Linked DNA regions of Homo sapiens: all the other regions are linked to region 3. The links are contacts of gene promoters, found by promoter capture Hi-C in human tissues and cell types (Jung and others, 2019). All regions are on one chromosome and are shown on one strand. Each heading gives the region's core, a stretch centred on a gene start or on the middle of the fragment in contact. The rest is flanking DNA. Distances are from core to core; before and after follow the strand shown.

What was found. Contacts are between HindIII fragments. The study calls those that stand out against the background at their distance.
Region 1: a fragment that was not itself captured here is called in contact with the fragment with the promoter of MUC5B in region 3 in 2 of the 25 tissues and cell types used here (dorsolateral prefrontal cortex and spleen).
Region 2: a fragment that was not itself captured here is called in contact with the fragment with the promoter of MUC5B in region 3 in 2 of the 25 tissues and cell types used here (IMR-90 fibroblasts and dorsolateral prefrontal cortex).

The regions. Positions count from the first base shown.
Region 1 is chr11:1,471,576-1,474,321 of GRCh38, reverse strand. The region is part of intron 3 of MOB2 (MOB kinase activator 2); the gene reads left to right. Among named protein-coding and RNA genes, the nearest start is that of MOB2, 14 kb to the left of the region's middle. The HindIII fragment of the contact is 6,097 bases long and covers 1-2,746 here.
Region 2 is chr11:1,360,901-1,363,600 of GRCh38, reverse strand. LINC02689 (long intergenic non-protein coding RNA 2689) reads right to left here. Exons shown (of 5, transcript XR_930972.2): 3 at 754-923; 4 at 584-647; 5 at 1-40. Among named protein-coding and RNA genes, the nearest start is that of LINC02689, 12 kb to the right of the region's middle. The HindIII fragment of the contact is 4,928 bases long and covers 1-2,700 here.
Region 3 is chr11:1,221,756-1,224,455 of GRCh38, reverse strand. It overlaps MUC5B (mucin 5B, oligomeric mucus/gel-forming), which reads right to left and starts at 1,390. Exons shown (of 49, transcript NM_002458.3): 1 at 1,263-1,390. The coding sequence starts at 1,332. RefSeq lists enhancers at 1-155, 156-851, 852-1,549. The HindIII fragment of the contact is 6,998 bases long and covers 1-2,700 here.

The sequences.
Region 1 (2,746 bases), core at 156-2,655, 250 kb before region 3:
CAAAGGACTGATATCCAGAATACATAAAGAACATACACAACTCAGCAGTAAGAAAACAAAACAGTCCAGTTAACTGTCAGCAAAAGAAATGAGCAGACAGTTTGCCAAAGAGGGTGTAAGGATGGCAGCTGGGGCTATCCTGTGTTGTTAGCAATTAGAGAAAGGCAAGCCGAAACCATGGGCAGACCCATGTCCACCTGCCCACATGCCGGTCGGGACACTGGTGCTGGCCAGGATGTGGCCACCTGGGACTCTGTTCTGCTGGCAGGGACACAGGTGAATAGATGAGCACGCCATGTCCATCTCTGCAGGGGCAGTGTCTGGGCAGTGAGGAGCCGTGGACTTCCGACACGTCTGCCACGTGACTGCATCCCAGGGGCCTCCGTGCAAGAGGGGCCCAGATCGGGAGGATCCGCGCGGTGCGATTCCTTCCCGCGGCCCATCCCTGAGGAGCCATCCCCGGGGTGCTGGGGGCACAGCAGCACGGGTGTGAGGGGCCACGTAAGCCGCCGCGTGTCCTGATTGTGGTTATGAATGCGTGAGTCCACATGTGGATAAAAATCTTAGAACTATATACCAGAAACGGTTTACTGATAATTGAAGAAGTACAGGAAACAGTGGTGTTCCATCTTTCAGAACAGATGGGACAATCCACAGTGTCCCTGAGTTACTGCTTTCTCTGGGTTTGCATTGTGGAAAAGGGTTTCCGTCTCTAACCTCCACTGTTTTGAGACCTGTCGCACACCTGTGGCCAGGTGCATCAGATGTCAGCTTGCAGTGTCAGGGTACCTGGAGCCAGTGTCTGACTCCTGCAGAGTGCTGAGCCATCCTGGCTGGGTCCTCGCCCTGGAAACATGGGCCTCAGCCTGGCCCTTAGGGGCTGGGCCTCCCCTACACCATCTGGGAACCCCAGGACAGTGGGGATACGTGCGTCCTCTACATCATTCTCGAGGAGCAGATGCTGAAAGGACTGTTGTCTCTGCATTCTCAGAGGGTCTGACAGCCTGGTGGCGATGCCCACGGTGAGGCCTGCAGCCTGGGAAGGTGGGCGTGAAGGTCATGCAGAGCTGTCCCAGGGGGAGGACAGCACCTGAGAGGCAGGTGTGGGCACTGCATCCCCGTCCTCATGGCCTGTCCATTTTGGGGCTGCACTTCCCCTTCGGGTGGGCTGAGTCAGCCCCGCACAGGGCACACATGAGAGCTCCTGGTTTGCATTCTGGAGGTGGGTGCTGGGAGGGGGTTGTCCTAGGGCCCTGGTGGTGCTGGGAGGTGGCCTGATGGCTGTTTCTGTTGCAGAGGGCAGGGTGCCAGCATGCAGGGCTTGCAGTGTCATCCTCTAGCTTCTTGGTAACTCTGGTGACTCCCCCCGGGATCTGCAGTGCACAGGCTGAGGGGCTTCTTGGACACAGCAGAGGGGTGCCCAGAGACGCTGGAGGCCCTGTGCCCAGAGATGCTGGAGGCCCTGTGCCCGGAGACGCTGGAGGCCCTGTGCCCGGAGACACTGGAGGCCCTGTGCCCAGCTGGGAGGATGGCTTCTCTGGCTGCGCAGGAAGTGGGCGAGCCCCCCGTGGCCCTGTCTCAGCCCTTGGGGCGTCTCCCCAGGTGCCTTGGTGGGCTCTGGAACCCAGGGCACGATGCTTGGAGCTGGCCAAGAGAAGAGTGGCCTCCAGAGTGGAGCCTGGGTCCATCCTTTTCAGCACTGCCCCACCCAGGGCCATTCCAAGAGGAACCGTGACTGGATGAGGAGGGTGGGAGCGGTTCATGTGGAGCCTGGTACTGGCAGACTGCCTGTTGGTCTAGCTGGGGCAGTGGAGGCGATGGTGGTTGTGGCCATGGTGTGGAGGGGGCGTTTGCTCAGTGGCCAGTACTGCTCTGTGCTGTGTGGCCCATTCCCACCTGTGGTGAGCTGGGAGCTGGCTCTCAGGGAGGAAATCCCGACCCATAGTGTTGGCTGTGTCTCAGGTGTGAGCACTCCCACCACAGCACTCTCCACTGCCTGTGGGTGGGGCTGCGGCATCGGCCCCAGCATGCCCTGGTTCAGGCCTGCGGGGGCGGCCGCTGTGGGCATGGCCTTGGAGGACTGAGACCCAGCACCGTGGCAGGGGGAGAGGGGTGGTGGCTGCCAGGTGGGTGCCCTGGGTTTTGGTGTTGTGCTGGGGGAGGAGGGGTGTTAGGGGCTGGGGGTCACCTTATATTAACATGAACTAGAGCACACCCTTGTCATGGCTGGACCCAACAGTAAGAGGCAAACCCAGGGTGTCCATGTCCCTAGGATGCTCCAGCCTGCTCTGGGGCCACGAGTCTCACATGAGGACTGGCCGCCCTTGTGTACAGGGGCAAGAGGGGGCCAGGTCCCTGTCCTGGCCAGGCTGTTAGCCGCAGGTACCCACAGAGACCACCGCCCTCCTCTGCTTTCCCCGGAGAGGGGCTTGGCTTCTAGCAGTCAGAGCAGGGCTCTCCCAAAGGGTGGGGCCTGGCCGGCGAGCCACAGCACAGCTTCCTGGGAAGAGAAGGAGCCTCTGTGTGCTTTCAAAATACAACAGAAAAACAGCAGCACGCACTTGTGTAAACGAATACAACTGAAGCCATGTAGAAGCGGAGAAAACGAAGATGACCCCTTCATTTAATCACACACCTGTACAGCCATGTGGCTGGCAGGCTCCCCAGCGTGATCCTGGCGTAGTTCTAAGTCAGCGCAGGCAGACCCCTCCATAGAGTGCAGTGTGGTCCCCGCAGACAGTGTGTG
Region 2 (2,700 bases), core at 177-2,676, 140 kb before region 3:
TGGCAATATGCTGATGGAGGGCACCGCATCTTGGAAGGCTCTGTGGACCAAGATAGTGGTGCAAGTTGCTCTCATTGAACAGGCTGCCTGAGTGTTGGCAACCAGGTAGCAGCTCCAGCACAATGGGGTGTCCTGGTCTCAATGGGTGACAGGGCCAGGGCAGCAACTGTGTCCTTCACCCTGTAGGACTTTGGGGAATGTCTAACTGATTGAAGTGTCCCCAGGACTAAAACACGTAAGTAGCCTGCCAAAGTGTTCTCTGGTCTCTGTCTTAGTCTGTTTGGGCTACCATAACAAAAATATCATTAAAGATCTGGGTGGCTTATAAATGACAGAAACATGTCTCACAGTTCTGGAGGCTGGAAGTGCAAGACCAAGGTGCCAGCTGTGTTTGGTGGAGGCCAGTTTCCTCTCAGACAGCAACTTCCGGCTGCACCCGTACATGGGGCAAACAAGGCTCCCATGGGCCCCTTTCATAAGGGCACCAATCCATTTATGAGGGCTCTGCCCCCATGACCTTGCCACCTCTTGAAGGTCCCACCTCCCAACACCATCACCTTGGTGATTAGGTTTCAATACCTACCTTTCGAGGAGGACACAAGCATTCAGACCATGGCAATCACTGTAAGTGACAAAACCCTGTAGGTCTGGTGAACAGAGAAATGGCGTCAGCCAGCATGGTGGAGAATCCTGGCTTTTCCCCATATCCCAGAACTGAGCAGCTCAGAACCCCTGAATGCCGGGGGACCAGACCTCCTTACAGAAGGGCTCTGAGATACCACTGGCCCCACGATTGTGGGCCAGTCAGAGCGGGTGGGATGCTCGGCTCAGAGGTGCTGCCTAGCCATTCTCCAGGGCGAACTGTTTCCTTCCTTCCATCTGCAGCCACGCTGCCAAAGGGCTGCAGACTTCTTCAGAGAAATCTAGGAGAAAGATTTACAGTGCATACTGGCAACGGTATCCTGGATTCCTCTTTTTTTGTTTGTTTGTTTGAGACAGAGTCTTGCTCTGTCGCCCAGGCTGGAGTGCAGTGGTGTGATCTTGGCTCATCGCAGCCTCTGTCCCCCAGGTTCAAACAATTCTCCTGTCTCAGCCTCCCGAGTAGCTGTGACTGCAGGCGTGCGCCACCATGCCCGGCTAATTTTGTATTTTTAGTAGAGACAGGGTTTCACCATGTTGACCAGGCTGGTCTCAAACTCCCAACCTCAGGTGATCCACCCGCCTCAGCCTCCCAAAGTGCTGGGATTACAGGTGTGAGCCACTGTGCCCAGCCGATATCTCAGCTTCCTATCACATCGTTTTGCTTCACCTCTTTGGCCTGTGAAGGACAGAGGTGGATTTTGGAGAGTGACTGTGGATGGCTGCAAACACAATCGGGTGGGGACTCCAATTGCATCTGCCCCTCCAGATGTACCTCGTGTGATGGAACACCCAGCCATGGCTTCCATGAGGAAACTCATCTGACCAACGTTTCCTTCCACACACAACAGCTGAGCCACAGGGGAAGGCTACTTTCACCTGGCAGGGACAGCAATACACCCCGGCTCGTGCTTCTCAGAACTGTGCCCATCGTCCATCCCTTTGTCAAAATATAGACCTCAGGGCCCTTGACCATCTCAGTCCTGGCCATCCCATGGGACAAAGTGCCAGTTCACTATGCCGATGGTGTAATGGAGATCAGACCTGGTGGCAGGAAGTAGTAAATACTCTAACTGTCTTAGTAAGGCCCTTTCGTGCCTCCATAGTAGGAGACGCACCTCACAAAATGAAGGATTCTGTCATTTCAGTGAAATTTCTAGACATCCTGTGGTCTGGGATATATGAAGATATGTGCCCCCAGCCAGGCATGGGCTCACACCTGTCATCCCAGCACTCTGGGAGGCCATGGCAGGAGGATCGCTTGAGCCCAGGAGTTCAAGGCTGCAGTGAGCTGTGATGGCACCACCACACTCCAGCCTGGGCAACAGAGTGAGACCTTGTCTCAACAATAATGATTAATAATAATAATAATAAGATACTTGACCCAACTTCCTGTTCTTTGCACTAAGAAGGTGGCACAATGCTGCTTGGTAGGCCTTTTTAGACCCCAGAGAGCTCATGCACCATATTGAAGCAGGCTGCTTCGACCATATGGAAGCCTCCGAGGCTGTCAGTTTTGAAGGGGCCTACAGCAGCAGAAGGCTCTGTAGCAGGTCCAGGCTGCCATCAGGCACCTCTGCACGCGTGTCTCAGCAAATCAGACGGTGACAACAGGTCCGTGTCAGACAGGGATGCCGTGTGGAGCTTCCGACAAACCCTTCAGAAGAATCCCAGCTCAGCCACCCAGCGTTTTGGAGAAAAATCATGCCCTCTTCTGAAAGTAACCATTTTCCTTTGGAGACCCAGCTCCTGGCTTTCCACTGGGCCTCGGAAGAGATGGAAGTGTCAGATGACCACGTGACCTACCGGTCATGAATGAGGCAATGCAAGATTCACCAAGCATTAAAGCTTACCGTTCCCAGCATCCCTCCACCGTCACTTGGGGTGGAGACTATGGCACAGTCTCTGGGAGGGCCTGGGACTGCACTCCTCCCACTCGTTCAGGTGGCCGCCCATCTGTGCCATGCACCCACGTCCACGGCACCCAGGCCCACGGCACCCAGGCCCACAGCACCCACGTGCACAGCACCCACGTCCACAGCACCCAGGCCCACAGCACCC
Region 3 (2,700 bases), core at 141-2,640:
CCCTGCCCAGGCTGACTGCCCTTGGTTATCTGCTCCGTGCAGTGCCCTCCTTGGGCTGGACCACCTGGGCCTCCATCTTGTAGCCAGAGAAGTGCCCACCACCAGCCACCCCATCACTTTGGGGTGTGTCCCCTAACATGAAGCTGCTCTGTGCAGGGCTGCCTTCCCCGGCCACAGGACGTGCATCTGGTGACTAAAGCACAGTCCCTGCCAAGGGCTTGATCTCCCCAACTTGGACGTGCGTGGAGGACAGGAGGACGGGTGGGCTGAGAGTCCCTAGGCCCTGCCTGCTCAGGTGAGGGGAGCCAAGGCTGCATGGCCCGGAAGAATCAGATGCAAGGAGGTGGCTATTCTGGTCAAACCAGCCCCCAAACCTTGCAGCCAGACGCAGCTCCCCCCGGGCCCAGGCTGGGAGCCACTGGGGGAAGCCCCCTGCCTCCAGCCCTGCTGACCACCCAGCCTCCCTTCCACAGATGGAGAGAGACCCCAGGGAGCCTCACCTGCCCAGCCCAGACCCCAAGCTTGGGAGGGGGTGGAGGGCGGGGCAGGGAGGGGCTGCAGCAGCCTCATGGCCAGCCCGGCTGGGTGTCTCCCGGTGGCCCCTGGGGCTGCATCTTTCTCTATTGACAGTAAGTATTAATGCTGCGGCTCTGGCCAAGAGACAGCAGACGAGGGAAAACGCTCGGCTGAGAGCCAGGCAGCCCGTGCGGCATGAGATGCCCACAGATGGGCCGTGGGAGTCGAGCGTGGGTTGAGGCCGGGGCTCTTGCGGCTGGCTGTGCAACCCTTGAGGGTGGTACCCTCACCTGCCCTGCCAGCTGTGATCCCCAGGGAGGTCGTGAAGGGTAGAGCCGGTCCTGGACAGGGGTCCACGCTAAGCCTGCCCCTGCTCACTCTGATGCCTGGGCCTCATGGGGCTCCAGAGAGACCCCCAGCTGTGACCCCCTCCCCCATTGCCCACTCCTGTCCCACCCCCAAGACCAAGACCCTTTCGGTGGTCTCCCAGGGGCCTTGCCCTGCGGTCAGGGGCCCACCTTCTCCTGGACACCCCATCCAAGCCAGCCCCTGAGTTTCCTGACACTGTGAGCCCGTGGGGCCCCAGAGCCCTGTGTTGGGGACGGGTAGGGTCCCATCCAGGACACTCAGGGAGTCGTAGGGGGATCTGCCCGTGCACTCTGCAGGAGAAGCTCCCAGGCAAGCGACCTGCAGAGACCCCCGCCGTGAAGACAGCATCGAGAGGGGGCGGAGTGGGGGGCTCTTACCTGCCTGCGGCACCACGAGCATGGCCGCCAGAGCCAACACCAGCGTCCGGCACGCGCTCGGGGCACCCATCCTGGGGGCTGGCACGGGTGGGGGGACGGGGACGGGCAGGGAGGGAGCCGGGCCGGGTGCTTGCTCCCCTGGGGGCCCCAGCTTATGTAGCAGGGAGCCTTGGCCCCAAGCCAGGCCAGGCCACGCAGGGCACCATGCTCTTCCCCGCTCCAGCCACGTGTGTTTGCTCTCGGGGAGGGGCTGTGGCAGGGGAGAGGCCTGGATCAGGAAGGATTTGCAGCTCTGTGCCCTGAGGCCCAGGACGCCCCCACCCCCAGCAGCTTCTGAGAATCGGAAGGGAGAGAAGGGCCTACCCCACCTGGCACCCGTCCTAGATGGCAAAGCCGCTGGAAGGCAGGGCTGGCCTTGGACGCAGGGTCCATGGAAACAGTGGTCAGCCAGCCTGCCTCACACTCAGCCCCACTGCGGCTCCTGCTGGAAGGGAATCCCAGCCTCTGGGCAGCACCCCCAGCCACTGACCATGGGTCCCCGAGGCCCGGGGAGGGCCCACGAGGCTGGAGCTCCCCTCCCACCACTGCTTAGCCCACGGGGAGGCCGGGAGGCTCCTGCTGAGCTCAGGCATGCACATGGCCAGGATGCTCAGTCTGGGTGGCTTGTGGGGGTCCCTGGAGGAGGCTCTATTTCCAGAGACCCCAGCCCAGCTGACCAGAGCCCCTTGAAGACCGTGGGAGGTCTCTGGGCTGATCTGTTTCAAGGTTCACATTCAAGGGGAAACTGAGGCCCAGAGTGTCTCCTGGCCATGCACATCGGGAGTCAGCTGCGCTTGTCCAATGCCAGCCCTGATCCAGCCAGGCCAGAGGCTCCGGCCCTGAGTCCCATTTGGCCTCCACCTCACTCTGGGGCCTCCTCATTAACCCTGGCAGGGTTGAGGAAGCAGCTGCTCCGGGGGGTCCTGGACCTGCCCGGGGTCCTCCGCCTGCCCCAGGTGGGAGCCGCAGAAGCCTAGCACCTCCGGCTGGTGTCGGGTGGGCTTCCTGGGGGCTATGTGGTAAACCTCCTTGACGAGCGTCATCTACAGGACAGACAGCGTCATCTGCAGGACACTCCGTCCGCGCTGCAATACCTCTTGCAAACACCTCCTGCCCGTGTGACCTGCACCTCAGATGCTCCCACCTCCTGGCTCCCTGGTCACCAGCGTCCTGAATGCTCCGTGGCGCAGACGCCAGGCAGGAAGCACCAGGTCGGGTGGTGTGGCCTCGTCCGGCCCCATGGGGACCCTAGGGTGGTGTCCAGGTCTGTTGTTTTATTTACGTCACAGTCCCCGTCACGGGCCCTGCACCAGCTCCCCCGCGTTTGTCTTTCTGAAGTTAAATTCTTAGAGGTGGGATTTCTGGGACAAGACGAAAGCCCATCTTCAAAGCTTCTGAC